Regions from separate parts of the Homo sapiens genome. Here region 1 is linked to region 2. Evidence: promoter capture Hi-C in human tissues and cell types (Jung and others, 2019). All regions are on one chromosome and are shown on one strand. The core of a region is centred on a gene start or on the middle of the fragment in contact, and the rest is flanking DNA. Distances in the headings are between cores, read along the strand shown.

The links. Contacts are between HindIII fragments. The study calls those that stand out against the background at their distance.
Region 1: a contact is called between a fragment that was not itself captured here and the fragment with the promoter of CNOT7 in region 2, in 1 of the 25 tissues and cell types used here (aorta).

The regions. Positions count from the first base shown.
Region 1 is chr8:18,937,224-18,942,085 of GRCh38, forward strand. The region is part of intron 1 of PSD3 (pleckstrin and Sec7 domain containing 3); the gene reads right to left. Among named protein-coding and RNA genes, the nearest start is that of PSD3, 74 kb to the right of the region's middle. RefSeq lists an enhancer at 2,349-3,548. The HindIII fragment of the contact is 5,306 bases long and covers 1-4,862 here.
Region 2 is chr8:17,243,638-17,248,657 of GRCh38, forward strand. CNOT7 (CCR4-NOT transcription complex subunit 7) reads right to left here and starts at 3,220. Exons shown (of 7, transcript NM_013354.7): 1 at 3,038-3,220; 2 at 1,399-1,610. The coding sequence starts at 1,515. VPS37A (VPS37A subunit of ESCRT-I) reads left to right here and starts at 3,321. Exons shown (of 12, transcript NM_152415.3): 1 at 3,321-3,732. The coding sequence starts at 3,608. RefSeq lists an enhancer at 2,969-3,817. The HindIII fragment of the contact is 14,692 bases long and covers 1-5,020 here.

The DNA.
Region 1 (4,862 bases), core at 1,085-3,584, 1.7 Mb after region 2:
CCTAGCACAGTCAGGGACGCCTTCTTTTGCCTCTTTACTATGAACCTAAACATTAACCAGGATACAGATATCACCGGTACTGGTTTCTACCCACTGGTTATGAGACATCATCTTTTCTCATGTCTGAACAGTGACTGACCATTCACTTTGGGGGAGAGAAGCGTGAAGGGTTTTAACAGCAACGAAGTAACTATTTCAAAGAGGGAAATGTTAGTATTTCTATTCTATGCTTTGGAGTAGAAATGACTGACAATACTAGGAAGACCCAATCACACCTCCATCACCCCACTGGAGACAGGTTCAGGGGGCAGACCCCACTTTGTTCTTTAATACCAAGAGCTAGCGTGCACAACATTCAGACAGCAATTTCTTAAAAGAGCTCCACAATCACTTAATGTTCATAACGCGTCAAATGTATCGGTCTGAAAAAAGGTGCATACTCCTCTTGGTGTTACGTGTTTGATAATCACAGGTTGTTAATTATCCTTTTCCCCAATAGAGAGGAAATATTAATTTTTTGAAGTGTTTGGGGAGCTTCAGGCTAGTAAAAGAGGAACTCGGCCAAGGGGCTGCCACGTAAGGTGCCCTAATTTGGGCAGGTGGTTAGGGAAAGCTCTCTGAGAAACTAACGCCTGCAGAGATGAGAAATATGACAGGCTGGGGAAGGTCAGCGACATATTGGCGGGAAGGCCATACGCATGGCCTTAAGGAATGGAAGGATGGATGAGGCTACTCAGATAACTAAGAGAAAGCCAAAGTGGCCACAGAAGAGCAAGTGAGTGGGCAAGTTTAGAGATTTGCAGGATGAAGAGTGTAGCTCAAGGAAAGGACGGAGCATTTTGATGGGTTTGATGGGAAGCCACTGAAGCGTTTTATGGGATACAGTGATTCATTTGCATTTTAAAAGATTATTCATTTACACTTTTAAAAGATCATATGGGTGTTATATGGAAAATGAATTGGAGTGAGACAAGAAGCAGCAGAGATATCAGCTAGAAATCCAAACGAGAACAGGGAAGTTTGGAGGAATAGGCAAAAGTGGATGAATTAAAATATATTTTGTAGGAAGAATTACACAGTTTTCTGATAAACTGGATTTAAAGAATGAGGGAAAGGGGCCAGGCACAGTGGCTCATGCCTTTAATCTTAGCACTCTGGGAGGCTGGGGTGGGCGCACCACTTGAGGTCAGGAGTTCGAGACCAGCCTGGCCAACATGGCAAAACCCCGTCTCTACTAAAAAATACAAAAATTGGCCAGGCGTGGAGCCATGCACCTGTGATCCCAGCTACTCAGGAAGCTAAGGCAGGAGAATCGCTTGAACCTGGGACGTGGAGGTTGCAGTGAACCGCGATGGCGCTATTGCACTCCAGCCTAGGCGACAAAAGCGAAAATCCGTCTCAAACAAAAAAAAAAAAAAAAAAGAGGGAAAGGGGAGATTAAGGTTAATTAGAATAGATACTAACCACTTACTCTGTGCCAGGCACTGTTCTAATGTAATACATGGAATATCTCATTTAATGCTCAGAACAATCCTATGAGGTGGGGGCTACTGTCATCCCCATCTTATAGGTGGAAAAAAGAAGGCAATGAGAGGCTAAATAACTTTTCCAAAGATATATAGATCCTAGATTCACACCCGAGCAGTCCAAATCTAGAACTCGTGGCATTGCGGATGACTCCCAGGAATCTGGCTTGAACAACCAGGTGCATGTATTGAGAATGGGGAGACTAGAGAAGAAACAGTATCAAGAGCCTACACTGGGGCTTCCAAGTGATGCCCCAAGGACTCACTAAAACATCAGAAAGAACATTTTTAAAAAGGAATCCATTACAGGGGTGCTAGAAAATAAGAAAAGATGCCATCTATACAGCAAAAGTTTCAAGAAATTCCAAGAAGATAAATTTTTGCTTAGAATCTCAACTTTAAGGCCGAGAACTGTTCTCTAAAGCAAGGTTCCCCTTGAGCAAGGATTCTTAACCTCAGGTCCGTGGGGAAGCAATTGCCAATCAAGAGAATTCTGGAAGTTCATGAAGCTGGGGAGGGGGTGATTTACATATTTATTTGCATTTACCTTTAGATGAAATTTAGCATGTTTTCAAATACAAATGTAAGCAACAAACCAGAGTATTGGTAGCAATAACCATAACTTGTCATCAATAGAAATTCATCATTTTCATATCATCTAACAGTTACTACAGATATTTGGAAATATGTATACTCGTCCCTAGTTTGAAATGATAATAGTTACTAGACTCACCATTAAATCTTGTTATCAATAAAGAAACATAGCTTTTTTTTTTTTTTTAGAGATGGGATCTAGATATGTTGCTCTGACTGGACTCAAACTCTTGACCTCAAGCAATCCTCTTGCCTAAGCCTCCTGAGAAGTTGGGATACATATATTATCATACCACAAATGTAATATTTTGGTAGCCAATCAAATTGGTTTCTTTTGCAACTCTATCTACATTATTGTATGCATTTAAAATGCACTATTCTGACAAAAGATCTAGAATTTTATCAGACTATCAAGAGGAGCCTGCTCAAGACTATTGTTTCTCAAATTGCAACTTATGACCCATTAGTGGCTTGTAAAATCACTTTAGTGGATCATGACCACATTTTTATATCAATAAGTTTATACACACATATCTATTTAATAGAATATAAGTAAAAATACCAGAGCAGAAAACACACTGTAAGATAAGCATTGTTTCATGGAACGTCTAAGTCACACGTGCATGTGAGTGTGTGTGCTGAGTCATGATTAAAAGTGTATTTCTCAAGGTTGCTCATGACCTAAACTGTTGGAAACATACTACCCTAGAGTGGTTCTCAAAATTTATCATGAATTAGCATTACCTACAGCACCAAGTAAAACACGTACTGCTGGGGTCCATCCCAGAGTTTCTGATGCCGTAGGTCTGTGGGGCCTGCGAATCTGCATTTTCTAACAATTTTTCAGGTGATGCTGATGTTGCTGGTACAGGAGCCATCTTCTTTGTGAACCACTGCTCTCGACCAATGGTCTTCGTACTCTGTTGTATATACGAATCACCTGGAATCTTCTTAAAACAGAAACTGAGCAGGTTAAGGTGGGGCCTGGGACTCCGCATTCCTAAAAGTTCCCTGGTGACCATGATCCACAGACCAGCTTTGAGGAGCAAGGCTTGAAGGCGCTAAAGCTTCCGAATGAAGCCGTGTTCAAAGTACGCTCAGACTATCACAAAAGTGAAACATTTTTTAAAAGGGACTGCTCGACCTAGAAGTAAAATTCACTAAAGGGCTCTGCTTAATAAAGTGCTCCATTAACATACTCCACCTTGCTAAATAATATAAAATTCATTCTGCTTGCATTTGTGTGGAGGCTAAAGTAACTCTATCTTGGAAACTAACATGCCATGTTGACTTCTGATTAACCCCAGTTCTGGGAATGCCTCTGAGATTTCCAATTTATCTACTGTTTCTTGAGTAATGGCACATACTTACAGTAAATCCTGCCCTTACATCAAATTCCTACCTATTCCCTCCGAAGCATGTGTGCCCCTTCCCTAGATATAATCCCTGGGTCTGGGGTATAATGGCATGGAGATCTATCCGTCTTGCAGTTGCCAAAAACCACGCTTCTGTCTGTCAGTTCCCCAATAAAACACCCTATAACAACAGTCTGGACCTGTCTGCCTTCTCCTTTGGTTTCTCAGCTCCACCTGCACTGGGGGGTTATTCTTACCAAACAATTAGTTATTCTTGAAGCTGTGAGCCCCTATTGATACATCCTCTTCCCATAGCAAGGCTTATAAATTTTTACTGATCTCTCCAATAATTAATGCAGGTCTTTGAAAACTGTATTGTTAAAACAATCAGATTAATGACAGACCCACAGAATTCAGACTACTATTTCCTTTGGCATTACTAACTGAATAAAATATATTCTTTTGCTTCATCACAGTTGTTTTTACGAACATAAATCTCCTTAAGAAGTATGGAACATGAAACATTAGCAGCTGGACTGATGGTCAGGTGATCAGACTTAAATCTCGGCTCGATAGTACCACGCAGTCTCACACAAATGCTTCAAGTTTGGGCTTCAGCTTCCCTATTGATAAAAAGTGTTACTCAAATTTATCTCTCAGCTCTCCTTGAATTCTGAAGCACAATGATTCTTCACACTTCTGAACCAGCTTCACAGACACTTCACTACGGGAGCAGTAACATCTTTTCCTTGTGATAAAATTACAATGGCATGATCCCCAAAACACACCCTGTATTTAAAGATGCAAGCCCACCATTAAATGGATGGGACAAACAAAATCTCAACCTTACATTTGATATGACTTTTCACATTTACAAAGAATTACATTCACGTTATCCAACTCGCAACATTACCGATTATAATTACCAATTTTAGACACAAGATAAGCACTACTGATGTAGAATGACTTTTTTTTTTTTTTTTTTTTTTGAGATGACAGATTCTCACTCTGTCACCCAGGCTGGAGTGCAATGGTACAATCTTGGCTCACTGCAACCTCCGCCTCCCGGGTTCAAGTGATTCTCCTGCCTCAGCCTCCAGAGTAGCTGGGATTACAAGCACGCATCACCATGCCTGGCTAATTTTTGTATTTTTAGTAGAGACAGGGTTTCACCATGCTGGCCAGGCTAGTCTCAAACTCCTGACCTCAGGTGATCCGCCCGCCTCGGCCTCCCAAAGTGCTGGGATTACAACAGGTGTGAGCTGCCACACCCAGCCTAGAATGATTCTTTTAATTAATTGTTTAGCTGTAAAAAAATCAAAAAGACGAAGCAGAAAGCTACAGGCAAATTTTAGAAGTAAAAGTGGTTTTCAGTTGATTTGGGAAG
Region 2 (5,020 bases), core at 1,970-4,469:
TTAGCTTCCTAATTTCTCTGGCTTAAACAATATTCTCTCTATAGTCCACAGAAAGCATGCTGTCAAGAATTGCATGCCACCTACTCACTCTTGTAGGATGTTATCACTTCTCTATGTTGCCACTCTTTATCATCTGAGAAATCAATGATCACTATGAATTTCCATTGGTTAAGAAAACAATTTTAGTTCTAATCATGGGTAAGTACACCTTTATCAAATAGTATGTCATCTACAAAGAAACAGTCATATTTTAACCAATCAACTTGCTCCTCCCCAAAGTAATGCATTTGTTTATTTTTATTAAAAATACTGAGACAAAGATACATCGGTTTAGTATTAGAATTCAAACTAGGGCTAGCTAAGAATAAAAACTACCTATCAAGTCACTATGAAATAGTAAAGAAATCAATATTTCTCTAAATTCAGTGCAATTCAACAGCCACTTTATTGAATACTATATGTGTTATGCTAGGTGTTGGGAGAGAAAGGATTAAAACACTTGGTTTATGGAGCTAATAATAATCCAGTGGATGTAGAAAACAGTAGGGTAGCTAACAGATATAGACAGTATAATGGTAAAGAAGAAAAATCATTAACTGGATAGACAATCTAGGCAGACCAAACAGCACGTGCAAAAGCAGAGTTGCTTAGTAACACAGTATATTCACAGAACTCCAGTGTTAATTATGAAAACAAATTGCAGACCAACAACGTTTCACTGGCACATCTGATTTTTTTGTTTGAGAAAGAGCACCCTAGCTTCTGGGAGCTCATGTGGTACTACCAGCTAGGCTTTGGTGTTGCTAGGAGCAGACCTGGCACTCATAGCCACGCCCTAATGTTCTCCTGTTGAACACAATTTCACAAAAGTTCAACCTCAAATAAGGCCACTCTGTAATCATGTCTGAACAAGGACAAAAAAATAAAAATGTCAAACCACAAAATGACCAAGTATCTCCATCCTGGCTAAATGAATGACTGTTCCTTCTCTGCAGCTTTAACCTCATTCTAGTCTCTCATTTAAGACTTAGTAAGATACCCAATCACAGAATTACCCCAGCTTCCCGAACACATCCAATCCACAGTAAAGCTCTGCTTCCCTTACCTTCCCCTAAGACCACCTGACACGAGCCCAAATCCTTCCTAACTCTTATTCAAACGGCCCATGGTTCCCATGAATTCCAGTGCGTTTTCCCTCACTGCAATGAGGGATAAACCCAACCTGTCAAATCACAGGTGTATTCCTGATGGATTTTGGCTGGAGGGCAGTGACAAATTTTACTTTTCATGGTGAAATTAATCCCTAAAAATATCAACCAAAAGGGTTGAATTCAAGACTTTAAAATTTCCTTTTCCTCCTTTATATGAAGCGTTTTAAAGATCTGCTTGTGGGCATACCATAGCAACGTAATTATATTTTCGGATAACTTGACGAATTTTCTTCATCTCTTCATCCAAGTTGCAAGCCCAAACTTCACAAATTCTTTGGCTATGATCTACAGTTGCCGCTGGCATAGTGAGGGCACAAGGGAGTCTAGATGCCAAGCATCAAAATGTTATACTTGATTGAAGATTTGTTTCATAAAATATTTTATCCTTTATTTATGTACCTGTCAAAATAAAAAAACAATATGAAGACCAGATATATCAAATCTGAATCACAGAATAATTGATCCAGCAGGAACCTAAGAAGTTATTTATTCAAAGTTCTTGACTCATAAAAAAAAAAAATCAAAGTTTAGAAAGTAACTTAAGGTCACACAGCTAGTCTATAGGAAAAAAAGGACTACAGTACAGATTTCCTGGTCCTAATTTCAGTTATTTTAAAATAGCTTTTTTACACATACATACTAATCATATTTTATAACTTTCCACTAATTATTTATCTGAGTTCAACTACTCTGCATAAAACTTTATAAAGCCATCCATTTCCAGACAAAAAATGAAAAATTACTTATTTACATGTGACAAGATCAGATGTTACCATGGCAAAGATGGTGTTTATTTTTATTCCTCATTAATAAAACAACCAAAATCCGACTTGATAACAAGATCTACTTTACCGGCGTTTATTCTAACTAGACTAGAGGGGTCAAAAATGTTTGTAAATGCTCTGAGAAAAAAGTAACGGCCATGAAAATTATCTGAATGTTCGCAGTTGCAGAACGGAAAAAGAACACAATAGAACGTCTAAAACTTAGAGCATATTGCATGGTTACCAAAGATAGATGTCACATTTCTGGTCTATAAACAGAGTTCCTGTTGATTCTTGGGCAGGGAAATTTCAAATCCTTCTGCATTTTTCATACAAATTGGAAAAAAAAAAAACAAGAGTAAAAAGAGGGTCTTATGACTGTCTTCTAAACTCTGAAGAGTCACAAATGTAACTTCCAATTCTCCAAGTAGAGAAACTAAAGGAGATCCAGGACACCCCTCCTTTATAACTCTCCCACCCCGATAGGCACACACACACACATAAGCACAAAAACACAAAGACTTGGAAAGACCCTGTAGTCTAACATTGTTTTCCTCCACCTCTCTCTCTACTGCAGTCCCAGAAGCCCCGAAGAGACACCAAAGGCCTTCTCATTACTGGAGAAAGCATCTCCGTACTGCAGTTTCCCAGAGAAACGAGAGGACGGCACCGAGGTATTCAAGCCATAGATAACTCTCTTCCCTGGCAAAGCGCCAGTGCGAAGGTGCTGATAACACTGACTGGAGCTACACTGACTCCCAAGCACTGCCGCGTGAAACAATACGAAGAGGTGAGGATCTAGGCCACCGCCCTCCACTCCCAATTTCCGTCCCACTGCGAAGCCCCAGGTACAAAGCCTTTGCGTCATCACTACGCGCCAACCCCTTGACAAACCCCCAGCCCCAGTTACCCAGCCCCCAACCCGCCGCCAGGCTCCTTCCTCCGCCAGCCGCACTCCAGCTGGCGCCATCGCGCACCCTCTCAGGTTCATCGTCCCCGCCCCCTTTCTACTTCCCTAACCCGCCCCTCCCCCCGTAAGGCTGCAGCGGATGCAAGATCTACTTGTGTCGCTGAGCTCGCGCTCCTCCTCCTCCTCCTCGCCATAGAGACAGCACTCGGCGGCGGTGGCGGTGGCGGTGGCGGTAGCGGCGGCGGCAGCGGGTGCCCCATAGACACCTCTCGCCCAGCGAAGGGAAAGGCGAGCAGGAGCTGCGCCGCACCGTGCTGCGCCGTCGCTTTTCGCACGTCCTGACGGGGGCGCTAGATGATGACGCGACACGCAGAGGGGGCGGAGAGCGCCCCCGGGGGCGGGGCACGCAAGTGACGGCGGCGCGGGTGGTGGAGCGCTGGGCGGCCAGGCTCCCTGGCTGGCCGGTTTGGGCGTCTGGGCCGTGAAGGTGGGACCTCCTGTTCCGGGCCGCAAGTTTCCCTCTCCAGCCGCCCGCCGTTCGTAGCATGTCCCCCAGAACTCGGGGAGCGCAGGCAGGACAGGCTTAGAGAAGACGCGGTCCCCAGCGCTTGGGCCACGGACGTCCCACCCCGCTCCTCTGTCGCTGGAGAACCGCCGGGCCGAGCCACTGGGAGAAGCAGGCCAGAGCCTTCCAGGGCCTCCGGCCCGTGGACCCGAGGAGGATGAGCTGGCTTTTTCCCCTGACCAAGAGCGCCTCCTCCTCCGCGGCTGGGTCCCCCGGTGGCCTCACCAGCCTCCAGCAGCAGAAGCAGCGCCTGATCGAGTCCCTCCGGAACTCACACTCCAGGTGACTGGTCGCTGCCTCTCCACCGGAGGAAAAAGTAGGGTGGGAGGGCGGGCTTGTCCTAACCACCCTCACAGCGCCTCAGTCTGCTCCCCACCAGCTCCTCATGTGGTTTACCTCCCTTGGTTGTGGGTCACACGCTTGCTCTGCCACTCCTGCCCCCTTTTACTGTTTTCCTCCGGACCCTCCCTGCCTCCTGCCGCACCACTGCTCAGCGCTTCTAACTCGGATTTCCTCATCCCTCCTGACACATAGCTGCTGACTGTAATCTCTCAATCTCTCTCATAGTCTATTTCCAGTATCCCTTGCTGCCCAGGCTTCGCCACTGATCTTTCCCTTTGCCCACCTGATTGCCGCGTCAGCAGAATTGTTAAAATACAATTGTGAAGAGTAATCTCCAGGTTTCACAAAGAATGGAAAATAGAACTGTTGCAACATCAAAGGAAAGGGAAGCCAGAGTTTTCATCAGTGAATGCTTCTCGTCTGAGAGTCACTTATCACGTAGTCAGTCTTCTTGAGTCTCTAAGATTTACCCTGTTGGAGCAGTCTCTCCCCATCTCACAGCGACCAGTGCATGTACATTTCTCACTTCTTTCATAGTCTTGTCCCCACGCTCAAGAATTACTTTATGTTCATCTTGATTGTTCTGTTGTCTTCCTGTGAGTTTTTCATTTTATCATGGTCAGTTTAGAAATATTTTTACAATTCATATTATTTCAACTTTTACTGTAAATTGGTTTGCTGCAGCCTTTTACATTGCAAATGTCTATGGTCTCTAATGGTTTTCAAAAATTAGAACTGCTTCTTTATATTTTATGCATTTTGCAAGTATATTTACTTAACAGTTTCACACTATTTTAAATAAAGATGACAACATTGTTAAGTCCCTAACCCCTTTTTTTTTTTTTTTTTTTGCCGGGGGTACGGCTCTCCTGTTGCCCAGGCTGGAGCGCAGTGGCGCGATCTCGGTTCACTGCAACCTCCGTCTCCCGGATTCAAGCAATCATCCTCCCTCAGCTCCCCACACCCCTCCGAGTAGCTGGGATTACAGGTGCGCGCCACCATGCGCGGCTAATATTTTGTATTTTTAGTAGAGACGGGGTTTCACCACATTGGTCAGGCTGGTCTCGAACTCCTGACCTTAGATTATCCACCCGCTTCGGCCTCCCAAAGTGCTGGGATTACAGGAATAAGCCACCTCGCCGGGCTCCTAGCCCTTTTAAAAATATTATTTTCATACAGTTAAAAAATATGTATCCTCAGATAATATCGAATAATTCTTATTTAAAAT